Linked DNA regions of Homo sapiens: region 2 is linked to region 1. The links are contacts of gene promoters, found by promoter capture Hi-C in human tissues and cell types (Jung and others, 2019). All regions are on one chromosome and are shown on one strand. Each heading gives the region's core, a stretch centred on a gene start or on the middle of the fragment in contact. The rest is flanking DNA. Distances are from core to core; before and after follow the strand shown.

Region 1 (6,918 bases), core at 152-2,651:
TCAGCATGAAATCGTATATTCCGCCCCGGCAGGGCTTTGCATTTCACATTTTAGTTTGCATGCCCGTTCCAGACAATTCCAGGGCTTTTGAATCATGCTTCAGCCTTCCTGGCCGCTCTCACCTCCAAACACCGAAAAAAACAGGCGCTGGGTGCGAGGCGGAGGGATGCACAGGTCCCGCCCCGGCCCCGCCCTCTGTCGGTTCTAAAGGGCAAGGTCTCTCTGCCTCGCGCCCCGCCTCTACCCCGCCCAGGCCCCGCCAAACTGTTCGCCGGCCCCGCCCAGGCCTGGCTTCAGTCCTGGGCGCGCAAACCCCGAGGCGGATCGCGTGGAGTGAAGGTCGTACCGCGGCGCGTGAGTTTTGCTCTGCCTTGTATTAAGTTTGCGCTTCCCAGGTCCCTGGCGCGTCTGTCCCTGGAAAGTGGGGTCCCCACGGACCTGGAAATTCTCGCCTGTCTTCCTTCATCCAGAGCAAATTGAGATGTCCCCGTAAGAGTCCGGAAGTTGCTTGCTTTTGGGTTTGAACTCGTCCGGAGGCTGGTCCCAACCCCGGTCTTTCTGCTATAGGGCAGTGTATACACTTCCTGTCGCTTAGTTTTCCTGGTCAAAACCCTGTGCTGACTCCACCCACCCCGTTCTTTTTAAAGTCCCCGACCCGCGAGGTGGATTCCCGCCCTGGGCGCCTCCCAGCCTCTCCGTCTTCGGCCCCTGGAGCGAAGCGCTGTGTCCCCAGTCCTGGGGAGGCTGCGTCTTCTGCCTGGTCCTGGAATTCTGCAGGTGCCACCCTTGTCTTAAGGCGCCGTCGCCCCCTACATCCCCCCTCGTGGTGGGCCCTGCTGCTCCCCAATTCTTCCCTTCGCAGTCACCGCTTCCCCTGAACCAGCGTAGGGCAGGTCCCAGCGGCTTGTCCTATGACACCGGGTATTCTTGCCTGCCCAGCTCCACCCTCCGGAAAATGCGCTTCTCCGCGATGCGGGTGTCTTACCCCAAACCCGCAGAGTGGTGCTGGTGGCAATGAGAACAGAGGGAGAAACACAGCAGGGAGGACACCGGGGGATCTGGGGTGCTAGAGAGTGGGGACAGGGGGGCGTAACAGGGAAGAGAGAATTTAACAGGGAGAGCAGAGGAGACGCAGAGATAAGAGGCGGTAATATGTAGAGATTGAGGACGATCAAAAGATTGGGGAGAAGGAGCAACAAGAGGTTAAATAAGGACCGGGCGCTTTGGCTCATGCCTGTAATCCCAGCAGTTTGGGAAGCTTAGGCGGGCGGATCACCTGAGATCCGGAGTTCGAGACCAGCCTGACCAACATGGAGAAACCCCATCCCTGCTAAAAATACAAAACTAGCTGGGCGCGGTTGCATATGCCTGTAATGTCAGCTATTAGGGAGGCTGAGGCCAGAGAATCGCTTGAACTTGGGAGGCGGAGGTTGCGGTGAGCCGAGATCGCACCATTGCACTCCAGCCTGGGCAACAAGAGTGAAACTCTTTCTCAAAAAAAAAGCGGTTAAATAAGTTGTGAGGATGGAGCAGAAGAGGTGGAAGAGGAGTAATAGAGGGAAGAAGGGGATAAATAGCAGGAGAGTAGAGGGGTACAAAATGAGGAGCACAATCCCAGGGAAAAAGAAAAGAAAACAAGAGCTAGAGAGAGAAGGGGAGAATGAGAGATATGTACAGAATTAGAGAGGGAAGCACAGTAATGAAGAAAGAGGGGCCAGGTGCAGTGGCTCATGCCTGTAATCCCAGCACTTTAGGAGACTGAGGCAGAGGGATTGCTTGAGTCCAGGAGTTCAAGACCAGCCTAGGCAAAATAGACACCCCATCTCTTTCAAAAAGAAAGAAAAAATTAACGGGGCATGATAGTGTGCAGCTGTAATTTCAGCTACTCTGTAGGCGGAGGCTGGAGGATCACTTGAGCCCAGGAGCTCCAGGCTGCTGTGAGCAGAGATCATGCCACTGTACTCCAGCCTGGTCAAAAGAGCAAGACCCTGTCTCAAAAAAAAAAAAAAAAGGGTGGGGGACTTTGGGTACAGATGAGTGTGTGAGTTCATTGGATATGATTAGTTGTGACATGTTGACTTCTGTCTATAAAATCTAATAACTTGTTTAAATTATACAGATGAGTTTGAGAATTTTAAATGTCCTATCTGTGAGCCATGTATGTTCTATAAATATTGGTATCAGAGGTTAGCTTCCACTTGGAATCCCTATTCAGACCGAGGGCAGTGACATTCAATTGTGGGTCACTCTTCCCTTTTCCCATGGTGGGGTAGGAAGTGGTGGGAAAAAAAAATCGCTGTTATTACATAATACTTTTAATTAATTAATTAATATTTTGAGATAGGGTCTGGCTCTGTCGCTCAGCTGGAGTACAATGGCGTTATCTACTCTAACTGCAGCCTCGACCTCTTAGGCTCAAGCGATCCTCCCTCAGTCTCCTGAGTAGCTGAGACCACTGGTGTGAGACACCAAGCCCAGCTAGTAGTTTTTTTTTTCTTTGTTTGTTTTTTTGTAGAAACAGGGTTTCAGTATGTTTCCCGGGGTGGTCTCAAAATCCTGGGCTCAAAGGTTCCCCCGTCTTGGCCTTGCAAAGTACTGGGATTACAGGGATGAGCCACCGCGCCCGGCCTACATACTAATTATTATTATTATTATTATTAGTTTTTTGAGGTGGAGTTTCACTCCTGTTGCCCAGGCTGGAGTGCAATGGCACAATCTTGGCTAATGACTCTCTGTGCCTTTAGAGTTGAAGCGATTCTCCTGCGATACTACCCCCTGAGTATCTGGGATTACAGGCATGCGCCACCATGCCCTGCTAATTTTGGATTAGGAGGCCGAGGCAGGAGAATCACTTGAACCCAGGAGGCAGAGGTTGTGGTGAGCTGAGATCGCACCATTGTACTTCAGCGTGGGCAATAAGAGCGAAACTCTGTCTCAAAAAAACCAAAAAAGAATGGAGCAAAACAGGAGAGGGGCATAAAATGAGCAGAAGCCCAGGGGGAAATGCAGAAAAGAAACAGATGGAGAGAGAAAGTGAGAAAGGGCTATGCATAGAATGATGGAGGGAAGCAGTAATGAAGACGAAGAGGGACCCTGGGTGCAGATGAGTGGTGAGTTGATTGGATGTGATGATGAAGTGATGACATGTTGTTTTCTCTGTTTATAAGGTAACAAATTTAAAATTAGTTTAAATTATACAGATGAGAATGAGAGTTGCCAAACTCCTGTGTCTAAGTGTGGTTCATTTTATAATGATGGCGTCAGAGGCAGCTTCCCTCTGCAACCCCTCTTCAGCCAGAGGACAGTGACTTGACTCATTCGTTGTGGATCACCCTCTTCCCTTTTCATGGCTGGGGTCGGGAGTGGGGGAGAGAAGTAGGGTAAGAAGTGACTGACTCTGTTACTATATGGAACGTGATGAAAGGAGTATTAAAAGTGCTTTTGTTCTCTTTTTGTAATTGGTTTCCTTTTTTCTAGTTCCTCTTCATTTCATTTTTTTTTTTTTTTTTTTTAATTTTTGAGATGGAGTCTCTCTGTGTCACGCAGGCTGGAGTGGAGTGGAGCAGTCTTGACTCACTGCAACCTCTGCCTCCTGGGTTCAAGGAATTCTCTGCCTCAGCCTCCCAAGCAGCTGGGATTATAGGCACCTGCAGCCACACCTGTCTGATTTTTGTATTTTTAGTAGAGACAGTTTTCACCATCTAGGCGGGACTTGTCTTGCACTCATGACCTTGTGATCCACCGCCTTGGCCTCCCAAAGTGCTATGATTACAGGCGTGAGCCACCACACTTGGCCTCAGTAATTGTTTTTTATTTTTTAATTTTAGTTTTAATTTACTTATTTTTGTTGTGGTGGTTTTTTTTTTTTTTTTTTTTTTTTTGACGGAGTTTTGGTCTTGTTGCCCAGGGTGAAGTGCAATGGTGCGATCTTGCTCACTGCAACCTTTGCCTCTGGGGTTCAAGTGATTCTCCTGCCTCAGCCTCCTGAGTAGTTATGATTACAGGCACACACCACCATGGCCGGCTAATTTTGTATTTTCAGTGGAGATGGGGTTTCTCCATCTTGGTCAGGCTGGTCTTGAACTCCTGACCTCAGGTGATCCTCCCACCTCAGCCTCCCAAGGTGCTGGGATTACAGGTATGAGCCGCTGCGCCCGGCCTTTGTTATTGTTTTGAGACACTTTTACTGTTTCCCAGGCTGGAGTGCAGTGGCAGGATCACAGCACTGTGCAGCGGCAACCTCCTGGGCTCAAGTGATTTTCCCACCTCAGCCTCCGGAGTAGCTGGGGCCACAGACACACCCCACCAGGTCCGGCTAATGTTTAGATATATGTATTTATTTATTGAGACTCTCTGTCACCCACTCTGGAGTCTAGTGGCACGACCTCGTCTCACTGCAAACTCCGCCTCCTGGGGTCAAGCGATTTTCCTGCCTCAGCCTCCTGAGTAGCTGGAGTTACAGGTGTGCACCACTATGCCCTGCTAATGTTTGTATTTTTAGTAGAGACATAGTTTCTCCATATTGGCCAGGCTGGTCTCGAACCCCTAACATTGTGGTCTTCCTGCCCCGGCCTCCCAAAGTGCTGGGATTATAGGCGTGAGTCACTATGCCTGTCCTCATTGTTTTCAAAGTATGATATATTTTCAAATATTTCTCCTTTGGCCCAAGATTTCATTAGATCTGTATTTTTTAACCATTTTAAAATTGTTTCTCTATGAAATTTTTTTGAGTTTACATTGAGGTCTGTGTGCTTTCTAGTCTTTATCATATATCGAAAACATTTTCTACTATGTGATATATGTTGTTAGGTTGTTTCAGTGTGTACTTGATAATGATATCAAGGACCTTTTTTCTTTACCCTAACATGAAAATTCAGTTGAAGTAGCCTATTCCATTTTTTTTTCTTATGTCATCTGAAAAAATGGTAATCTGTGAGCTTCTAAGTAAGTGTCCCCTCAATTCCCTCTGGTCCATAATATTCTCTACAGATGTTGAAGGATGGGCTGGATTGACTTGGAACCTTGGTTTAGCAGAGCCCATGTGTTCTTGAGAAAAGCATTTGCTCAGATCTCATTTCTACAGCTGCCTCTTTTTCAGTGTTTTAAACATCTATTGCTATGTGTGCACAGTTGTGTGTATTTTGAACATTTTTCTGGGAGTGAGTAATGATATGTTTGGGATTGATGCCATCAGAACCTTACAACTTGAAAGAAGTTTCGTTTGCTCAGGTATATAAGATGGTCCTGGAATTTTTGTTTGTTTGTTTGTTTTTCTTTGAGATGGAGTCTCGCTCTGTCACCCAGGCTGGAGTGCAGTGGCATGATCTCAGCTCACTGCAACCTCTACCTCCTGGGTTCAAGCAATTCTTTTGCCTCAGCCTCCTGAGTAGCAGGGACTACAGGCCCCCGCCACCACGCCTGGCTAATTTGTGTATTTTTAGTAGAGACGGGATGTCACCATATTGGCCAGGATGATCTTGAACTCCTGACTTTGTGATCTGCCCGCCTCAGCCTCCCAAACTGCTAGGATTACAGATGTGATCCACCCCGCCTGGCCTTTTTTTTTTTTTTAAACCGTTTTTAAATAAAATTTTTCATGGTGTGACATAGAGATCCAATATTATTCTTTTCCATGTAGATATCTAGTTAGGTATTACAAGGGTGAGTCACCGCTCCTGACTGGTCTGGAAATTTTCTAGAGGAGGAAGACCAAGGCAGCCTATTGGCCCTTTCAGGCAATCACATGGGAATCAGCCACATGTCCTTCCTCCTCACCTCAGAGCATCTCAGAATAACTTGGTGAAATGTCTCCCACTGTGAGCCTCAGTGAGCCCACCTGTAACATAGAGGTGAGGAATAAGACCGGAAAAGCTCAGTCAGAGTGACACTGACCCCTGAAATGACTGACAAAATACAGTGTGTGACTTTTCTTCTGGGAGAGGTAGTGCTCAGTTTTAACTCGAATTTTAAAGGGATTCCAGTTCTCCAAATATTAAAAAAAAAAAAGCACAAGATGATTAAAATCAGGGGATTAGACTCAAATCACCTTGAACCTTATCATCTCACAGCTTTAACCCACTTACACGACTCCATGTCCCCTGCAGGCGTCGCCCCTGAGCTCTACAATCCTGTGTCCAGTTGTCTCAGCTGTCTCCTGGGTCATCAAACAGGCATCCCCACCTTCAGGTGTCCACGAGTGGCTTTCTAAACCCCCAAACACATTTCCTTGCAGTCTGCACATCTCAGATGAGAGTGACTGTGTACTTCTGGAAACTTAGCCAAACTTGACAGCATGTATTTTATATTTGTGAAATAAATCACTTTATTTGTAAGTGTTGTAATTTATAATATAAAGAGAAACTTAGATGTATACGTGAAAAGAGTGAGAAGATACATCACTTCCAATTTTTTTTTTTTTGAGACGAATTTTCACTCTTGTGGCCCAGGCTGGAGTGCAATGCCACGATCTCAGTTCACTGCAACTTCTGACTCCTGGGATCAAGGGATTCTCCTGCGTCAGACACCCGAGTAGCTGGGATCACAGTCGACTTTCAAAATGCTTTTGGGTTGTGGGAGAAAAATGTTTGAAAACCATGTCCCTATGGGTCTGTGCCCCCAGGACCTCTCTGACCTCATCTCCTACCTGTGCCCTCCTCTCTTCCACTGCTCCAGCCCCACGGGTCGCTTTCCTTTTCCTGGGGCTGAGGTTGCTCCTGTCTCAGGGCCCTCACTTGAGCTGTCCCTCTCTCTAGGATGCTCTTCCCCTCAGCTGCAAGTGACAAGCAGCCTTTCTTTCCTAGGTCCTTGTTCTGATATCATCTTCTCCGGGTTTCCTTTGTGATCTCCCACAGCCCCCATTTGACACTGCAGCTGTGAAACCAGAAAATCTTACAGAGATCTCAGTTATTTAGAGAGTTT
Region 2 (7,176 bases), core at 2,451-4,950, 660 kb after region 1:
CGAAGCACAGCATCACAGGGAGACGGTTAGGCCTCCGGATAACTGCGGGCGAGCCTGACTGATGTCAGGCCCTCCACAAGAGGTGGAGGAGTAGAGTCTTCTCTAAACTCCCCCGGGGAAAGGGAGACTCCCTTCCCCAGTCTGCTAAGTAGCGGGTGTTTTCATTTGACACTTACGCTACCCCTAGACCACGGTCCGCCTGGCAACGGGCATCTTCCCAGACGCTGGCGTCACCACTAGACCAAGGAGCCCTCCGGTGGCCCTGTCCGGGCATAACAGAAGGCTCGCACTCTTGTCTTCTGGTCACACCTCACTATGTCCCCTCAGCTCCTATCTCTGTATGGCCTGGTTTTTCCTAGGCTATGATTATAGAGCGAGGATTATTATAATATTGGAATAAAAAGTAATTGCTACAAACTAATGATTAATGATATTCATATATAATCATATCTAAGATCTATATCTGGTATAACTATTCTTGTTTTATATTTTATTATACTGGAACAGCTCGTGTTCTCTGTCTCTTGCCTTGGCACCTGGGTGGCATGCCGCCCACAGCCAGCAACAGCCCGGAGCAGGGACAGACCATTCCCAGTACCTCCTGAGTTGAGATTGCAGGCCTTAAGACAGGTGGGTGGGCCCGTTGGAGAGCTCTTCCCTTTACTGTTTGAGACAGGAAAAAATTAAACTGTTCATACTATTGTCACACTCAACCCAGAATACTTCACTTGTAGTCACCAAAATGTGTGCAGTTTTTCCCACAATGACCAGTTCTGCAGTGCACTCCCAGTGGTGGGTCCTACAATTTCACTCCACTCTGACACTGTCAGTTCTCCCAGGTGAAGATCTCAGTGTGCTACATGCTACTAGTAGCTGTTGGCTACACTCTCACCAGATAAATACCGTGATTCTCTTAACCCCTTCCTTGGATTCAATTAACTTGCTAAAACCATTCATCTGTATGCTTCGTAGTATCCTTTATAACAATTAGGTAGGCCGGGTGCGGTAGCTCATGCCTGTAATCCCGGCACTTTGGGAGGCCAAGGTGGGTGGATTACCTGAGATCAGGAGTTCAAGACCAGCCTGGCCAACATGGTGAACCCCCTTCTCTACTAAAAACACAAAAATTATCTGGGTGTGGTGGCGGACGCCTGTAATCCCAGCTACTTGGGAGGCTGAGGCAGGAGAATTGCTTGAGCCCAGGAAGCGGAGGTTGCAGTGAGCCAAGATCGTGCCATTGCACTCCAGCCTGGGTGACAGAGCAAGACTCCGTCTCAAAAACAGACCGGCAAACAAAAAACAATTGGGTAAACCAAGGAAAATGTTTCCCTGAGTTCTATGAGCTGCTCTGGCAAATTAATAGCACCTCAGGAAGGGATGAGGAGAATCCCAAATTTATACTCAATGGATCCGAAGCTCCGAATCTGGGACTTGGGGCTGGTATCTGAAGAGGGAACCCTCAACTAGTGGGATCTAATGCTAACTCTGGGTAGACAGTGTCCGAATTGAATTAAATTATTGGACAGTCAGGTAGTGTTTGTTCAAGAACTGCGTGTTGGTGAGGAGAAATCCCCACCCCACACGTTTTGGTGATGAGAGGCGATGCATTCTTTGTTGAGCGTTCATTACTTGATTATGAGAGTGGGAAAAACACTTTGGTTTTTCCTCCTCACTCATACACTTGCCTACACATTACCCCATCCTAGGAAAAGGAAAGAGGGTGACCCATAACTGAATGAGTCAAGTCACTGCTCTCTTAGAACAGAGATTGCAAATAGAAGCTAACCTCTGATGCCAGGAATTATAAAATGCACATGTCTTATAGACAAAACTTTTGTGATTCTCACCAGCATCTCCATAACAGAAACAAAATATATACATATAAAATTTGTTAGATTATTAGGGGCTGGGCACAGTGGCTCATGCCTGTAATCCCAGCATTTTGGGACGCTGAGGTGGGTAGATCACCTGAGGTCAGGAGTTCGAGACCAGCCTGGTCAACATAGTGAAACCCCGTCTCTACTAAAAATACAAAAGTTAGCCAGGTGTGGTGGTGCATGCCTGTAATCCCAGCTACTCGGGAGGCTGAGGCAAGAGAATCGCTTGAACCCAGGAGGCGGAGTTACAGTGAGTCGAGATCGTGCCATTGCACGCCAGTCTGGGAAATAGAGTGAGATTCTGTCTTAAGAAAAAAAAAATTTGTTAGATTATGGATACAGAAATCAATATATCACGATGTAATTATCCATATCCAATGAAACCACCATGCATCTGGGCCATAGTCCCCCTCTTTCTTCCTTCCTGTGTGTTTCCCTCCCTCATTCTGTACATCTCTCTCATTCTCTTCTTCTCTCTCCTTGTTTCTTTTCTGTGTTTCAGCCTGGGTCTCTGCTCCTCATTTTGAGCCCCTCTCTTCTCCTGCTGTTTCTCCTTCCCTCTATCCTTCTCTTCCACTTGTTCTGTTCCATTCTTGCAACTTGTTTCACCTCTTATTCCTCTTTCACCCGTCTTTTGGTTGTCCCCAATCTCCATCTATTTCTGCCTCTTTCTTCCCTTATCTCTGCTCTCCCTGTTAAATCCCCTCTTCCCTGTTTCACTTCCTTGTCCCCACTCTTTGGCACCCCCAGATCCCAGGTCTCCCCCTGCTGTGGTTCTCCCTCTGCTCTCCTTGTCACCAGCTGCCCCTTCTTGCTGTCCCAGCACCACGCTGCTCTGTCTATCCTGGCTCCAAATACCCCCTCCTCTCCCTAACTCTCCGTCTGAGGAGCTGCCCCTCTCCCTACCTTGCTGTCCTTCATCTCTCTAGACAGCGAGCTTTTCTCTACATTTCTCCAGTTGTTTCTCCATCCTGTTACTTTCTCAGCGACTTCTTTCACCCTTACTGTCTCTTTGTAAATCCTGACCCATCCTCTACTTTGCCATGTTTACTGGTTTCCCTCATTCTTTCCTCTGTCTCCGTTTTTCTACTTTTCTCTCAGCCCCCCTCTCTGTCTCCTGATCCCCTTGGCCCACACATTCACAGGGAGGGTTTGGAGTAAGACACCTGGATCCTGGAGGAGCACATTTTCCAGCGGGTGGAGCTGGGCAGGCAAGAACACCGGGTATCACAGGACAAGGCCCGGGCACCTCCCCAACGCGGGCTCAGGGGAAACGGTGACTGCGAAGGGGAGGCCTAGGGAGCAGCAGGGCCCGGCACGAGGAGGAGGGAGGTGGGGGGCGACGGCGCCTTAGGAGAGGGGTGGGGTATGCAGGATCCCAGGACCAGGCAGAGGCGCGGCCTCCCCGGGACTGGGGCTGCGGCGCTAACGCTCCAGTAGCTGACTAGGGCGAGGTTAGGGGACGGTAAAATCCTGCACCCACTTCGCAGATGAGGACTTCACAGGGCGCAGGTCAGTAAAGGGTTTTAAGCAGGAAACGGCGCAGGAAAGGAGGTGTCTGCATGGTCTGAAGGCCGAAAGACCGCGGGCAGGACCAGCCTGTGTGATTTTAACCCAAAGCGATGCGACCCCCAGAGTCTCGCGGCAAAGTCTGAATTTACATGGAATGGAGGGAGCCGTGCGGGGACTTTAAGGGCTATACGAACCCCCGGACATCGGGTACGGAGGAGCAGGGGACTCCGAAACGCAGGTTTAATCTAGATAGAGGGAAACTCACGCGGCGACTAACAGCCTTCACTCCAAGAGATCTGCTTCCGGGTTTGCAAGAAACTGCCCGCGCAGTAGGCAAAGGGGCGGGTTGCGGTGGGGAAAGGCCAGGCGTTGGGAGGGACTGAGAGCATAGGGTGGGCGGGGCCGGGGCGGGGCCTGAACCCTGGAGGCGGAGGTTGCAATGAGCCGATATCGCGCCATTGCACTCCAGCCTGGGTGACAGAGTGAGACTTCGTCTCTCCCAAAAAAAAAAAAAAACAAAACTTAGGCTATCTAAAAGTTTAACCAATGGCCAGTAATATAAGCAATCATGCATATGTAATGAAGGCGCCATAACAACCCAAAAGGAGAGGATTCAGCGGAGCTTCTGGATAGGTGAACACTGGGAGGCTCCTGCAGCGTGGTGCACCCAGGGAGGGCACCAAGGCTCAACGCCCCTTCTCCCATGCCTCACCTCACTGATCCCTTCCATCTGGCTGTTCTTCTGTCAACTTTGTAATATCCTTTATAATACGTAAATCTATGTAAAGTGTTTCCCTGTATTTTGTGAGCCACTCTAGCAAATTCGTTGAACCTGAGGAGGGGGTCAAGGGACTCCTGGATTTATATCTGATCTGTAAGCACAAGTCACAACCTCTGCTTGAGACTGGCATTGAAATGTGTGCACTATTGTGGGACTGAGCCCTCAACGTGTGGGATCTGATGCCATGTCCCGGCAAAATGGAACGGAATGAGAGAACACGCACCTGGTGTCTGTGGCAGGATTGCTTGCTTGGTGTGTGTGGGAAAACCCAGTACCTCTGGGCTAACTGTAGCATTCTGTGTTGTGAGAGAACAGTAGAAGAAACTGAATCAGTGTTTCCTATATTCTTAAATACGAATATGTGAGGTTTGTTGTTGTTTTTTTTTTTTTTTTTTTTTTTTTAGACAAGAGTCTTGCTCTTGTCGCCCAGGCTGGAATGCAATGGCATGATCTCGGCTCACTGAGCCACCGCCCCAGCGTGAAGGCATTTTTGAGCAAGTTATGTCTCCCTAATTCTGTTTTATTGTACTTTTCCCTAAGTAGTTATAATAGCCTCTAAATCTGTGTGGAGTTTTCAGTTTTGTGGACAATACAATAAATAGACAAATAAAAACCCAAACACAAGCTGATCTCTATAGAAGTGTTAGATATTATTTTCAACACACTAAGTGATACTCCGTATCTAGATAAGCTAAAGCACGAATGATGTCTTCTGAGGTGACAAGGTCCACAGTGGCTTTACAGAAACACTGGCCAGAAGTAAAAACTGTGATGATAATGGCAATAGCAATGACTGACTTTTCTGAACACTATGTGCAAGGCATTATTCGGAATACTTTACCTGTATTAACTCAAATAACAACATAATAGCCCATGAGAAAAAGATCTTTTCCTATCTTACTAGGAAACAACTGTGTCGGCCGGGCGCTGTGGCTCACGCCTGTAATCCCAGCACTTTGGGAGGCCGAGCTGGGCGGATCACGAGGTCAGGACCGGATCACGAGCCGGGCGGATCACGATGGTCACCAGGAGACCATCCTGGCTAACACGGTGAAACCCCGTCTCTAATGATAATACAAAAAAATTAGCCGGGCGTGGTGGCGGGCGCCTGTAGTCCCAGCTACTCTACTCGGGAGGCTGAGGCAGGAGAATGGCGTGAACCCGGGAGGCGGAGCTTGCAGTGAGCCGAGATGGCGCCCCTGCACTCCAGCCTGGGCGAGAGCAAGACTCCGTCTCAAAAAAAAGAAAAAGAAAGAAACTGTCACAGATACGCTAAGAAACTGGCCTAAGGTCCAAGAGCTAGAAATGACAGAGCAAGCCCCGAACCCAGGCATCTAAGAATTACAGTTAGGCTGAGAGCAGTGGCTCACACCTGTAATCCCAGCACTTTGAGAGCCTGAGGCAGGAGGGGTGCTTGAGCCCAGGAGTTCAAGACCAGCCTGGGCAATATAGTGAAACCCCATCTCAACAAAATAAAGACAAAACAAAAACAAAAAACCCCTCAACAATTACAATTAAACCTAAAGAATCAGTTAAGTAACAGAAGTACCATCAAAAGTGACAGGATGCCAGGTCAGGGAAACCATTGAGAACAAAGGCAAGCAACATAAACGAGAGTCTGCAGTAACGCAGGCAGACACTAGGTGGAGAACCAGACCACAGCTTACCATGAAAACACAGGGACTGCAGAATTGCAGACTGTCAACAGGAGCTCTCCTGAAGAAAAACTGGCAAACCTTCTCAGGTAACTACAAGCAAAAGCCCAGAGACGACACATTCCCAGAAAAGGCTTCAGAGGTTTCCAGAATCTCTAGTCAGGCTGAATAGAGAAGGTCCTCCCTGAAGGAAGCCAGAAATAAAAAAGTAGGACTGGTTGATTAGTGAAATGCTGAGGTGCCAAGATAACAAGACATTCAAGGAGAAAAGGAAACATGATCCACACAAAGGAACAAATGAAACCACCACAAACTGACACTAAAGAAATGAAGATGTGTGAATTATCAGACAAAGAATTGAAAATAAGAGTCACAAGATGGTCAATGAATTAAGAGGAGAGCACACATAGACAACCACAGGAAATCAGGAAAACAAGATATGAGCAAAATGAGACTATCAATAGAGAGACAGAAGCTATAAAGGAAAAACAGAGAAATTTTAGAGCTGAAAAATGTAATCAGAAACGCAGAACACAGAGCCTTGGTGCTCAATGCTGCACACAGATTACAACGCCCTGGGCCACCGTAGTTATTATTGAGGGTAGATCCCAACCTGACCATGGGAATAGGAATCTTGGGCAAAAGAAAGTTGAAATGGTTAAACTTATACGTTAATACGTTAAAATACGTTAAAAGGTATTTTTGCCAGCGAATGGGACAGAAGTTGAAATGGTTCACGTTGAAATGGTTATTACTGCCAGCAGGTAGGACAGAAGAGCTGCTAGTGAGACTGAAGCAACTCTGGGTGGGGATCTGGCATCTCTGGGGGTGTCGGTTTGGGGTAGATTGAATCCAGGAAAGTTTCTGCAATTTGAATTAATTTAAGCAACTTAACTAAAAAGCCCTGAAAATGTCTGTGAAGGGTATGCAAACTAGAATGTGAAATGCAAAACTCTGCCTGGGCAGAATGTGTAAGTAATTTCAAGTCACCTCTCAACAGAACTTAATGCAATCCCCTCCACATTCTACACCCATTCACCATGGAGGGAGAGAGTCAGCCCTGTGCACAGTTGCAGAGATTTTCATATGGTAAATACCTGGGGTGTGGAGCGAGGAGGGCTAATACCGGTGATATTAACTCTTGCTTTAGAAAAAGCAGTAACTTTTTAAAAATAGTTGAGCAACTTAAGTTTGCAACTTAGGAAAACATCTTACTTTCCAACAGAGATGGCCCACATAACTCTAAGGGTTTACCTTAAAATTGAGACATTAACTTAAAATAAGCAGAAAGCAAAACTGCTCCGCAGGACACGAAATAGACTTGTGTTCCCAAACCCAGAAAATAGGGACG

What was found. Contacts are between HindIII fragments. The study calls those that stand out against the background at their distance.
Region 2: a contact is called between the fragment with the promoter of ZNF665 here and a fragment that was not itself captured in region 1, in 1 of the 25 tissues and cell types used here (IMR-90 fibroblasts).

Annotation. Positions count from the first base shown.
Region 1 is chr19:52,535,693-52,542,610 of GRCh38, forward strand. All of the region lies in intron 2 of ZNF808 (zinc finger protein 808), which reads left to right. Among named protein-coding and RNA genes, the nearest start is that of ZNF808, 11 kb to the left of the region's middle. RefSeq lists enhancers at 339-568, 376-962, 699-828. The HindIII fragment of the contact is 7,454 bases long and covers 1-5,128 here.
Region 2 is chr19:53,189,658-53,196,833 of GRCh38, forward strand. ZNF665 (zinc finger protein 665) reads right to left here and starts at 3,701. Exons shown (of 4, transcript NM_024733.5): 1 at 3,655-3,701. RefSeq lists an enhancer at 3,517-3,666. The HindIII fragment of the contact is 23,654 bases long and covers 1-7,176 here.